Linked DNA regions of Homo sapiens: all the other regions are linked to region 1. Evidence: promoter capture Hi-C in human tissues and cell types (Jung and others, 2019). All regions are on one chromosome and are shown on one strand. The core of a region is centred on a gene start or on the middle of the fragment in contact, and the rest is flanking DNA. Distances in the headings are between cores, read along the strand shown. Region 1 holds the start of DNM1L (dynamin 1 like). Region 2 overlaps BICD1 (BICD cargo adaptor 1). Region 3 overlaps BICD1 (BICD cargo adaptor 1). Region 4 overlaps BICD1 (BICD cargo adaptor 1).

The links. The method cuts DNA at HindIII sites, captures the fragments that hold promoters and counts their contacts. A contact is called where the count stands out against the background at its distance.
Region 2: a fragment that was not itself captured here is called in contact with the fragment with the promoter of DNM1L in region 1 in 1 of the 25 tissues and cell types used here (hippocampus).
Region 3: a fragment that was not itself captured here is called in contact with the fragment with the promoter of DNM1L in region 1 in 1 of the 25 tissues and cell types used here (spleen).
Region 4: a contact is called between a fragment that was not itself captured here and the fragment with the promoter of DNM1L in region 1, in 5 of the 25 tissues and cell types used here (H1 embryonic stem cells, IMR-90 fibroblasts, dorsolateral prefrontal cortex and 2 more).

Annotation. Positions count from the first base shown.
Region 1 is chr12:32,677,540-32,680,828 of GRCh38, reverse strand. DNM1L (dynamin 1 like) reads right to left here and starts at 1,528. Exons shown (of 20, transcript NM_012062.5): 1 at 1,364-1,528. The coding sequence starts at 1,465. RefSeq lists a silencer at 971-1,380. The HindIII fragment of the contact is 15,512 bases long and covers 1-2,921 here.
Region 2 is chr12:32,201,433-32,204,721 of GRCh38, reverse strand. All of the region lies in intron 1 of BICD1 (BICD cargo adaptor 1), which reads right to left. Among named protein-coding and RNA genes, the nearest start is that of BICD1-AS1, 96 kb to the right of the region's middle. The HindIII fragment of the contact is 5,748 bases long and covers 1-3,289 here.
Region 3 is chr12:32,344,456-32,347,744 of GRCh38, reverse strand. The region is part of intron 8 of BICD1 (BICD cargo adaptor 1); the gene reads right to left. Among named protein-coding and RNA genes, the nearest start is that of FGD4, 53 kb to the left of the region's middle. The HindIII fragment of the contact is 6,116 bases long and covers 1-3,289 here.
Region 4 is chr12:32,382,080-32,385,368 of GRCh38, reverse strand. It overlaps BICD1 (BICD cargo adaptor 1), which reads right to left. Exons shown (of 10, transcript NM_001714.4): 10 at 1,736-3,289. Among named protein-coding and RNA genes, the nearest start is that of FGD4, 16 kb to the left of the region's middle. The HindIII fragment of the contact is 5,533 bases long and covers 1-3,289 here.

The sequences.
Region 1 (3,289 bases), core at 279-2,778:
AGTTTTGATGATAAAAGTCCCAGTGTTTTAAAACATTGTGGTTAGAGTGAGCAATATTTACTCAAAATATTTACAGAGCACTTACTATATGTCCCAGACTGAACAAAATTATGTTCAATAAAAAATAATCCTCGTAATTTGTTTGATGCTTCTGAGTCTCCAAACATTACAAATATTGTTACAAATACTAGAATACGTAGGCAAGATTGAGCAGAATCTTTCCCAATCCTATCGCAGACCAAGGAAATGTGTTTCTAAAACAATTTCTATTGCTTCAACTATTTAAAAGCCAAAAAAACAAACAAACAAACAAACGAGTACAGGGTGTCTATAGTTTCCAGTGTTTGGATAGCCACTAATACTTTGAACAGTAAGTTCCTTCTGATAGCACTTATACCCTATACTATGTACCTCCTGGAAAATGATGGGGAAACCGCTCCTTCTCAATAGAAAAGATACTATTAAGAAATGAAAGCACTTAATATCAATATACTAATTTCTAAAATCCGTTTCTCTGAACTCTAATCGAAGTAGCAGAGAAAAGGAAAATTATACTTCTCCTCTGTCACTCTAGAAATAACAGTTATTTTGCCAACATTTCTGCATTCAAAAAAAAATGAGTTAGCTATGAGAAGACCAGAGAAACTGATGCCCAATTTAGGTCACGATCACAAAACTGTGGAAGACAAAAAGCACAGCCTACGCAGAAAAATCGGATATTCCTTCCCAACACCCGCAGAACTCTAGATACACGTTTTGTTTTTCTTTTTTTAAAATGCTGCTTCGGCGTTCTCGAAACCTGGTGGAATTATACTGCAGGAAAACACTGGCGCTCACGCACCGTAGCGTCTCTCAGCCTCAACAGAGCGATTCCAAAACTAACTCCGCAGTCCCTGGGCAAGGCAAGGAGGGAAATAAAACACCCGTCTCACGAAAGCCAACAGTGATGGGAACAGCCAGCCCACCGAGCCCAGCGAGACCCGAGTGCCCCGCGCGTCCCCCAGGTGCCCTTGGAGGCAGCGGCACGCGGACGAGGCCGCGCCCGGTCCCAGCGGACTCCAGTTCCGCCCGCCGGCCCCATCCTTCCCTCTCCTGTCCCCGGGACCCGCCGGGCTAGCCAGGCCCGCCGCGCCGGCTCCGCCCCTGGCCGGGCCCCGGATTCTCCGCCTTGATGCAACGCTGCCCCGGGAGGGCGGGTGCGGCAGAGCCCGGAGAGCCCTGGGGCCCCCAGCAAGGCCCTCCTCCCACAGGCCCCAAAGGCTGGCGCGGGAGTGGGCGCTGGCGCGGGAGTGGGCACTGCCGCAGCACCGACCAGGCCTGCGGCCGGGGTCTGGCCCGAGCGAACGCCGCCTGCTGCTCTCACCTGCGTTCCCACTACGACGATTTGAGGCAGCTGGATGATGTCGGCGCCCACCGTGTTGAAGACGTCCTGGAGCTTGTTTATGACAGGAATTAGCGCCTCCATGACTCTGAAAACACGGGGCCCCAGTGCCCGCCGGCCACGGCAATGAATGGGGCCGGGGCCCACAGTTCGCCTCCTTCCTCCTCTCCTCCGCCCTCTCCTCGGAAGCCGGCACCCATTGGACCGGGCCCGCCGGCTACCTGCCCCCTCCCGGCAGGCCATGCGCTGCGAGGGAGGTGGAGAGGAGCAAGGCCTGCTGGGAGTTGTAGTTCTGGAGCGGAGGAACGCTACTCCCCACAGCTTCCAGGAGGCTGCGCGGCACCGGTGGGCCCTAGCCTGGGACTGGGATGCTGCGCAGGCTCTAGTCAAAGGCTAGGAGCAGGCCGGGAGCGCAGGAGGAAGGCCGTAAATTTATGCCTGTCCTCAAGGCACGATGGATGTGACAGTGCTGGGTGTGAATATGTGTTAAAGGCGCAATGGTGTGTCTCTTAATTATCCAGTGTCACTTCCTTTTATTTATTTTTTATTTATTTATTTTTTTTTTTTTTTTGAGACGGAGTCTCACTCTGTCGCCCAGGCTGGAGTGCAGTGGCGCGATCTCGGCCCACTGCAAATTCCGCCTCCCGGGTTCACGCCATTCTCCTGCCTCAGCCTTCGGAGTAGCTGGGACTACAGGCACCCACCACTACGCCCGGCTAATTTTTTGTATTTTTAGTAGAGACGGGGTTTCACTGTGTTTTCCAGGATGGTCTCGATCTCCGGACCTAGTGATCCACCCGCCTCGGCCTCCCAAAGTGTTGGGATTACAGGCGTGAGCAGTGTGACTTCCTTATGAAGACACTTTCTCTAGAAGGACGGGTTGGAAAGGCTTAAAGAAAAGCTTATGGCCGCAAACAACCAAACTGGGTGCAAAAAAATCTGCACGCTGATACGAGAATGTGTGGGGTGTTATTTTGCAAAAATACAAAAACCAGCCCAGGTTAGAATACGCGGGTTCTCCAGGGGTTTTGTAAACAAACAAACAAACAAACAAAATGTGTGTTCAGGACCGAGCGCGGTGTAATCCCAGCACTTTAGGAAGCAGAAGCAGGAGGATCGCTTGAGCTGGGAGTTCGAGACCAGCCTGGTCAACATAGTGAGACCTCATCTCTACCAAATAAATAAATAAATAAATAAAAAAGCAGGGGTCGGAGCAGCGGGGGGCGGTGTTCATGAAAAAAATCTTAGAGTATTGGAGTTTTACAGGGGAAGAGCTGGGCATTTATTATCAATATTATGTATAAACCTTTATTTGCTGTAGCCTGATTCCTGGCAAAGTAGACATCTGATAACTGCCTTACTCACTCTTTGCTCATACCGTTCTTTTTTTTTTTTGAGACAGAGTCTGACTCTGTCGCCCAGGCTGGAATGCAGTGGCGCAATCTCGGCTCACTGCAGCCTCCTCCTCCCAGGCTGAAGTGATTCTCCTGCCTCAGCCCCCCAAGTAGCTGTTATTACAGGCACCCGCCACCACCCTGGGAAAATTTTTGTATTTTTAGTAGAGACGGGTGGGGGGCGGGGTTTCACCATGTTAGCCAGGCTGGTCTCGAACTCCTGACCTCAAGTGATCCGCCCATCTTGGCCTCCCACAGTCCTGGGATTACAGGCCTGAGCCACCATGCCCGGCCCATACTGTTATATTTCTAAATGTTGTTTTTCTTTTTAGACAGATAGTATCCCTCCTCTACTCCAAACCTCCAAAGGTAAAAGTAAACCTCAAAGTAAAAAGGTGACATTTGAGTAAAGAATTAAAGCAGGTGAGGAGAGGCCAGGCACCGTGGCTCACGCCTGTAATTCCAGCACTTTGGGAGGCCAAGGCAGGCGGATCACTTGAGGTCAGGAGTTCAA
Region 2 (3,289 bases), core at 249-2,748, 480 kb after region 1:
GGGGTAAGGGCCAGGTGTAAGTATTTCCAACATGCTCATTTTGGGATGCTAATATATTATGCCAGGCTTGAGAAGCATTGCTGTGGAGTGTGGGCAGTGTTGTGGATTACACACAGCTTCAACTCTTCCTGACAAGGCTGCAGAGTTCTCCAAAGTGGCTGTACTAATTCAACTGCCACCAGCAGTGTCTAAGGATTCCTGTTTGTGACTCTACATTGTTAGGGTTGTTTGTTAAGACTTAAAAATTTTGGCCGCCCCGGAGAGTGTGAAACAGTATCACCTGGTGCTTCTCATTTGCATTTCCCTGATTACTAATGAAGTTAAGTAGTTTCACATTTTTATTGACCATTCACATTTTCATTTTTTTTTTTTTTTGACAGGGTCTCCTCTGTTGCCCAGGTTAGAGTGCAATGGCATGATCACAGCTCATTGCAACCTCCACCTCCCAGGCTCAGGCAATCTTCCCACCTCAGCCTCCCAAGTAGCTGGGACCACAGATGTCTGCCACCACACCCAGTTAATTTATGCATTTTTTTGTAGAGATGGGGTTTCACCATGTTGCCCAGGCTGGCCTCAAACTCCTGGGCTCAAGCAATCCACCTGTCTAGGCCTCCCAAAATGTTGGGATTACAGGTGTGAGCCACCACGCCCAACCTCACATTTCCACTTCTGTGTAGTTTCTATTCAAGGCTTTTGTTCATTTTTCTCCAGAGTACCTTTTTCCTTTATTAATTTGTCAGTTACATGTATGGCAAGTATCTTCCTCAAGTATTTATGGGTTGTTTCTTAACTCATTTTACAGTGCTTTTGATGAAGAGAAGTCCCACATTCTAAAAGACAGGTTTCTGTTTCCTAATTGTTAGTTACATGTTATTGTGCCAGACCCCTATTGAGTTGGATAGGGATAGCACAGGTTCGAGAGGCCAAAGAAGAGAGGCCAAAGAAGAGACCGAGAGCTGGCAAATGAGATATAGGGCTTCTCGAGGGGACTTACATATGCAGCGGTCCAGTGGTAGCAGGCTGGATGGACGAACCACTACCGTTTCTAAAAAGTATGCAGTTTATATAGCATTTTTACTTAGCTCCCCTCCTGCAACCTTCACCTGGCAACCCTCCTTTAATCCGAAATGGGCCGGGGGTTCAGATGTTCCTCATAGACAAGGAATCAGTCTCCGGGTTGGCCACTACCAGGTTCCTCAGCTGAGAACTCCAAACACACATTCTTCTTAGACCATAGGGTCATTCTCAGGGTATGCTTCGGTTGTTGCTGTCAGGTGTGCCTGCCACACATATGTATGGCACATATTTTCTCCCAGTGTGTGGTTTTTCTCTCCCACTCTTTTAGCGATGTCTTTTGATGAAGTAATTTCCTTGATTTTAAGATGGCTCAATGACCAAACCTTTGCCTTATAGCTAACACTATTTGTAAATCCTTCCCTCCTCCAAGGTCATAAAGCTATTCTCCTATACTATTTCCAAAAGTTTCAAAGTTTTGCCTTTTATAACTTAAGTCCCTTAATCTCCCTGAAATTGATTTTTGTGTATGAAATGAAGTACAGATCCATTTCAATTATTTTCTGAACGAATAATCAATTTCCCATGCACCATTTAATGTATTACCCCCTCCTATCCCACTGATGTCGAGTGCCAGCTTAGCCATAAATCACACTGACGTGAGTGTTTCTGTTTCTAGGCTATCCTATAATGTCCCACTAATGGTCATAAGATATCTAAGTAGGAGCCAGTTCCCCTGAGAAAAAAGGGGTACCTGACATCATCCAAACCTTATTCATTAAGTTATTTTAACTTTGGGCCTGGTGCGGTGGCTCACGCCTATAATCCCAGCATTTGGGGAGGCTGAGGCGGGCAGATCTCTTGAGCCCAGGTGTTCAAGACCAGCCTGGGCAACATGGCGAGACCCCATCTCTACAAAAAATATAAAAATTAGACAGGCATGGTGGTGCACACCTGTAGTTCCAGCTACTTGGGAGGCTGAGATGGGAGGACTGCTTGAGCCTGGAAGGTCGAGGCTGCAGTGAGCCAAGATCACACCACTGTACCCAAGCCTGGGCAACACAGTAAGACCCTGCCTCCAAAATAATAATAAATAAATAAACAATAAACTTTGAAATATCTGCATCATAACTGGACATCATTACTAAGGTATCCTAATGGCAATCTGTAAATGAAAACAATGTTACTTTGTATAAAAGAAGCAAATACATATTGATGAAGCTTAGTCAGGAATATATAAGACCTAGAGTTTTTTCCTTTAAGTAATATATATAATTGTTAAAGAAAATATAGATAACACCAAAAAGCAGAAAAAAATATTACCCCTTGGATTACCTTTTCTCACCTACCCCTGTAATTTGGGCAAGTTCAGGACCTCCAGATTTTTTCCCACAATTGCCTACTGGGCCCCTTGAAGTCCTGAACACTTGTTCTTACTCACCAGGTTTTGGGTCTCAAACTAGGATCTGATCTTGTTTCCTGGTGAATCTGTCTCAACCAAACAGACGCCATCTGCCCAGGCTGGCAGCTGTCCATGCTTCCTCTCTCTAAGTCCTCCCCAGGTTCCTAGTTTTTCTTTTTGTTGGCACAGTGATAAATGTCAGGAAATCTTGGGTTCAAAAATGGTGGGCAACCACTGTTCCATAAGTATTATATATGATCAGTGTTATTTCTGCTGGTTCACATCAGCTTCTTCTGGCTGTGTTAAAAGCTAGTCTCTTATTACTAAAGCCACCAACCAAATACAGACACTTTAAAAATCAGCATACGGAAAGTATATGTGCTCAGCAAGCAGTCTAAGAGGAGATTGCTTGCTTAGCAGAATATGTCTATTCAGAAGCAAAACTTAAAGGCACACATTTTCTGACTATTATAACCCGAAATAAATTCTCCAGATTTTTCAAAGATTGTGTTTTTTTTTTTTAAACAAACACGTATAAAATATAGGTAAACTATTTTTTCTGGGTCTTGGCCAATGAGTGTCTTTATCATTAAAATGTAAATTTTTATTTAAACTTTTTTTCTGGGTCTTGGCCAATGAGTGTCTTTATCATTAAAATGTAAATAAAAGGAAGAAAACTTAAATCATCATAAGTTATATTCTGGGTCCTCAAGTTTGAAAGTAATACATTTCACATTACATTTCCCAATTAAAAATGAAACCTATCCCCAGGAAGAAAAAATAATTTCCCCCCTAATTTTCCCTGCTCCCCCTTTCTTTCTTTCCACCATCCTCCTTCCCTCCAATATTTACTGAGTGCCTATGCATTTAGGT
Region 3 (3,289 bases), core at 234-2,733, 330 kb after region 1:
GATATACCTAAGTAATTAAGTTTTTATATTGACAAGGAGATCTAGTAACAAATAAGAGATGTATGAAAAGGGTATATAGGTACAAACTTTTTCTTTTTTTTTAATTGAGATGGCGTTTCGTTCTTGTTGCCCAGGCTGGAGTGCAATGGCGTGATCTCAGCTCACTGCAACCTCCACCTCCTGGGTTCAAGCGATTCTCCTGCCTCAGCCTCCCAAGTAGCTGGGATTACAGGCACGCACCACCATGCCCAGCTAATTTTTGTATTTTTAGTAGAGACGGGGTTTCACCATGTTGGCCAGGATGGTCTCGATCTCTTGACCTTGTGATCTGCCCGCCTCAGCCTCCCAAAGTGCTGGGATTACAGGCATGAGCCACCACGCCTGGCTCAAACATTTAATATGTATCTATTTTAAAAAGCACTGCCACCAATCAGAGACAAAGCAGAATCAGCAAAATAGCACTTTGGTCTATGTCAGTTTAAAAGAAAAATGAGGGCAGGGCGCAGTGGCTCATGCCTGTAATCCCAGCACTTTGGAAGGCTGAGGCAGGAGGATCAACTGAGGTCAGGAATTCAAGACCAGCCTGACCAACATGGAGAAACCCTGTCTCTACTAAAAATACAAAATTAGCCAGGCATGGTGGCACATACCTGTAATCCTAGCTAGTTGGGAGGCTGAGGCAGGAGAATCGCTTGAACCTGGGAGGCGGAGGTTGCGGTGAGGCAATATTGTGCCATTGCACTCCAGCCTGGGCAACAAGAGCAAGATTCTGTCTTAAAAAAAAAAAAAAAGAAAAGAAAAGAAATAAAACCGAAATACATGCCATCTTAAATTTTATTTTAAAATCAGTCATTAGTTATTCAAATTTAGATTTCTGTGTGGAAATTCTATCTAGTTAAAACTAAGAAGTTCTAGAACTGCACCGTCCAACACAGTAGCCCTTAGCGAAATTAGGCTGTTGAGCATTTGAAATGTGGCTAGTTCAAATCAAGATATGCTGTAAGTGCATAATACTGAATTTCAAAGACTGAATAAGAAAAACAGAATGTGTATGTATGTGTATGTGTGTGTGTGCGTGTGTGTGTGTATATATATATATATATATACACGTATATATATATATATATACACGTATATATATATATATATATATATATACACGTATATATATATATATATATATATATATATATATATATATATATATACACGTATATATATATTTTTTTTGACAGGGTCTCACTCTGTCACCCAGGCTGGAAAGAACTAGCACAATCCTGGCTCACTGCAACCTCTGCTTCCTGGGCTCAAGCGATCCCCACACCTTGGCCTCCTGAGTAGGTGGAACTACAGGCATGCACCACCATGCCTGGCTAATTTTTGTAGTTTTTGTAGAGACAGGGTTTCACCATGATGCCCAGGCTGGTCTCGAACTCTTGGCCTCAAGGGATCCACCCACCTCGGCCTCCCAAAGTGGAATTATAGGTGTTAGCCACCTATGAATTCCATGTTGAAATGATCACATTATGGATATAGTGTGTCAATTAAAATCTACTACTAAAATTAAGTTCACTTGTTTCTTTTTATTTATTTTTTGAAACAGGGTCTTGCTCTGTCACCCAGCCTGGAGTGCAGTTGCACGATCATGGCTCACTGCAGCCTCAATCTCCTGGGCTCAAGCAATCCTCCCATCTCAGCCTCCTGAGTAGCTGAGAGTACAGGCGCATGCCACTATGCCCGAATAATCTTTTTATTTTTTGTAGAGACATGGTTTCGCCATGTTGCCCAGGCTGGTCTTGAACTCCTGGGCTCAAGTGATCCTTCATTTTGGCCTCCCAAAGTGCTGGGATTATAGGCGTGAGCCATGGTGCCTGACTTCTTTTTACTTTTTCTAACATGACTACTAGACTACTAGAGAATTTAAATTTACATATATGGTTTATATCATATTTCTATTGAATAGTTCTGAATAGAAACATTCTTGTAGCTGTCATTTTATCATTTGGCAAGAAATATTTCTATTGCACACATAGAAACATTCCAAGCTTTCTTAAAGAGCTCAAGCATGTCTTCCTTCCCCTTCATAACTTCTTCTGACTCAAAAGAAACAAAAAGATAAATGTATAGGAAAGAAGAACCCAGATACATCAAGTGAAAAAAACCGGCATGCATAATGTCTGTGGTTGTGCCAATGGTATTAACACATATGTAAAATGCATATGTTTTTATATATGTATATATTTATATGCATTTCCTTATATATGTATAGAATGTTTCTGGAAAAATACAAAAGGTTGGGTGGGCACAGTTGTGGCAGAAATCTACCATCTACTGTATACCCTTTGTACTTTAAAATTTTTGAACCATTACCTATTGAAAAATATACAGCAAGTATAAAAATGTATTTCTCAACATGTGGTTGACAATTTTGTGAATTAATATATTTTTTCTTCTTTTTTTTTTTTTTTCTGAGACAGGGTCTCACTCCATCACTCGCTGGAGTGCAGTGGCTCACTGCAGCCTCGACCTCCCAGACTCAAGCAATCCTCCCGCCTTAGCCTCCTGAGCAGCTGGGACTATGAGTGCATGCCAGCACATCCAGCTAATTTTTAAATTTTAATGTAGAGACGAGGTCTCGCTATGTTACCCAGGCCAGTCTCGGACTCCTGGGCTCAAGCAATCCTCCTGCTTTGGCCTCCCGAAGTGCTGGGGTGACAGGAATTAACATTTTTGATTTAACTTTTGTTTTGGCAGATTCCAAACTAAAGACAACATGTTCTGACATCAAGAAGTGCCCAGGCCTTCCCCTACAGGGAAGAATTCTGTGGAAACTATGTTCAAAGAAAATACAAGCCTAAGAGATTACAGGTTTCAACAGACTGCCCTTCACTCCTACTAGTTCAAGAATTGAATCCTGTGGAAAAAGACAGTTTAGTGATATGGGGAAGTGGAATACACATAAATAGAAAAGCCTCTATAGGAAAAAATATAAATTATAAAGTACAAAATACTGAGGCCATGAGTTCAAGATTGACTGATCTCCTTCCACATACAGAACATGGAAAGCAGTAAGAGCAGGTCGTGTGTGCACAGGACATGCTGGCTGATGAAATATGTAACTGAATTGTAACTTGGGACATATTTAAACATTCCTATTCCTCACAGTTTTGATTCTGGTCTCCACTACCTCTCATCTGCATATTTTATGAGTCTCTGTACCTGCTTCTTTATCTTCGATGTTACCCACATCTAATCCACTCTCCACCTTGTCATCAGGGTGATTTTATCA
Region 4 (3,289 bases), core at 331-2,830, 300 kb after region 1:
CAATGTGCTAGTCAGCATGTGTACGACCAAAAACCAAGAAAATCCTTTCCTGGCTGGGCGAGGTGGCTCATGTCTGTAATCACAACACTTTCAGTGTCTGAGATGAGAGAATTACTTGAGTCTAGGAGCTCAAGACCAGCCTAGGCAACATAGTGGGACCTCATCTGTACAAAAAAATTAAACAATTAGCCAGGCATGGTGGTATATGCCTGTGATCCCAACTACTTGGGAGGCCGAGGTGGCAGAATCATTTGAGCCCAGGGGGTCGAGGCTGCAGTGAGCCAAGATCATCCCACTGCACTCCTGCCTGGGTGGCAGAGTGAGGCCATGTTTCAAAAGAAAAAAAAAATCCGGCTGGGTGCGGTGGCTCACGCCTGTAATCCCAGCACTTTGGGAGGCCGAGGCGGGTGGATCATGAGGTCAGGAGATGAAGACCATCCTGTCCAACATGGTGAAACCCCGTCTCTACTAAAAATACAAAAATTAGCTGGGCATGGTGGTACGTGCCTGTAATCCCAGCTACTCAGGAGGCTGAGGCACGAAAATAGCTTGAACCAGGAAGTCGGAGGTTGCAGTGAGCCAAGATCATGCCACTGCACTCCAGCCTGGGAGACAGAGCAAGACTCCCTCTTTAAAAAAGAAGAAGAAGAAGAAAGAAGGAAGAAGGAAGAAGAGGAAGAGGAAGAAGAGGAGAAGAGAAGGAGAAGGAGAAGAAGAAAGAAGAAGAAAAGAAGAAGAAGAAGAAGAAGAAGAAGAAGAAGAAGAAGAAGAAGAAGAAGACGGAAATCCCTTCCACAAGTTCCCATCGATTCTGCTCTCTTTCTCATCCCTTGTGGGTTGCAATATAGGCTGTCCAAGTTGCCTGCAAAATGTATAGATGAGAAGAGACTTTCTTGATGCGTCCAGCTGTTTTCACTTTTGAATGTGGCAGACTATCAGCTTTATCATGTAAGAGAAAGTCAAGTATCAAATAGACTTATAGATCCAACCTCCAAGAAAAACAAAAGCTTTTGGAAGAGAAAAAGGAGAAATTTGTAGAAAAGTTTACATTATTATTTCTAGTGTTGTATTTATGCAACAGGTGAGCAGACAGCTTTTGCCAGGATGTTGGCTGCCCGTGTTGCACGAATTTGATTAGCTATAATGAGGATTGCATTAGACGTTTTAACTCACTAGAACACCATGTTCTATCTGCCTCTCCCCCTCCTCCACCCTTTAAATAAAATCGAATCAAAGTGGATGGTTCCCAAAGCAGCTGATTTACTACAATATGTATTTGTAGGAGGAGCTAGAAAATTAACCTCCCTCAAAGTTTTGGAACTCTGCTGTTCCAAAAAGAACAAAGAGGAATTGTCTCCCAAAATAATGCATAGAAACTTCATTCTTCTTTCATCAAAATAATGTTTCCTGTTTTAGGGCAAGCATTTTCTTCATGTTGGTACATTTCTAATCAAATTCAGCCAAGTATATCCTCCTGCCAAAATAGCTTTCTAGAAAAGATTACAAGTAGAAGAGGTGATAACTGGAGGAAATGAGCAGAGTTGATACACATTACTTACCAGGAATGTATAGAATTGTTGTTAAAGCAAAGCATTTAGTTTTTAGTTCAAATAAGTTCTTACTTTGAATAAACATATAGATCACATCTGAATTCATATAGTCTTTTCCTTTTTGTAAGTATACATCAAAATGACATACAGAAAAACTGCTCAAATTGATAAAAAGGCAGCATTAATGAAATGAACAAAAAATAACCAGTTTATTTACTGGAAAAAGTTATGCATTACACCATATTCAGTTGGTAACATAAACCGAGATATAAGAATCGATATATTGGCTTCTGGTTATTTTCTTAGCACTGGAGTGCCTTTTCCAACCATTGAGTGCATGATCAGATTACACAAATACAAGCACATATCATGTGTTCTCCCATGAGACATTATTCACTTAGGATTGTCTACAATAAAAAAAGTTAAAGTACAAGCAATAATAAATTCATAAGAATTTTTTGAATTTAAAATAAATGCATGTGTCTTTGAGAACATTTCTTTTGAAATTCATATTTTTAAAAATAACAAGTTTCTTAAATCAGTCTTTTAGTCGTGTTTTCATATGGTATTTATCAGTAGGTGGAAACACTTCACATCATTTAACCCCAAAAGGCATAATAATTAAACTGCAATTAAATGTAGGAACAGTTGAATCATTACAACAATAATACGGTGTACAAATCAGAGTTGGCCACACAATACACATGTTAATACTGGAAAGAAATACAATATCAGAATCATGGATGGTTCATCACATAAGCATAATCATGCAAATAAAAACAGAGTAGATTATAAAAATGTCATAAGAGATTTTCAAATAGTAATTGTTTGACTCTCATAGTCAAACCATTGAGCTTTAACATTTTGTGGGAATAATGTTAAAATGATGTATTTCCTCTAAGACTGGCTGCACAAATCATACCTATGAACCCAATGAGTCATTCTGTATCTCCATTATCTATCATTGAATAATTATTTTTAAATAAAATGATATTTCCCCTTACTTTATAGTTCTCTCATCTTTGTTTTAAAATGACTTTTTAAAAAGAAAAACATATTTACACTAAGAAGCACCAGATTTACTTCTCGGTGTTTTCATTAGAGAACAATGATTGAGGAATAATTCTGAAAGAAAAAAAGTAAAAAATGTGTTCTCAACAAGTGTTCTACAGCAATTAAACTCCAATCACAGGAATAATCTGGCTCAGCAGTTTATCCAGGCTTCAGCTTAAATAGGGCAAATTTTAAATAACTCGAGAAGGGATAAAAATACACTGAGGATTAGAGCCATGCAGTTCAATATGGAAAGGAGACTAGATATAGATAACAATCTCCTTACTTTCCTAATGGACAGAAGATCACAGAGAAATGAGACTTCTATAGTGTTCATCTTATGAATATGGGAAAGCTTACATGATGTGAAATAATTCATGCAAACATTTTACATTGCATATTTCTATGCACTCTCGCCCTTACACTAAAGGCAGTTAATTGCTCTTCTTCTTCTTAAGTAGAATATTCTGGAAAATTCTCAATTGGGGAACATGTCTTAATACTAAATATCTCTTTCAATTACACTTTGAATAATAAGGACGAAAGACATGTCTAGATGAAATCTTTCAGCTGTAAACATAATACGATCAGGTTACAAACGCAATACATTAGGGACTATGGCAGTTAAGTTCGCATATAAATAAAGATGAACTTAATTTTAGACACAACTCATCCGAGGGCATTAT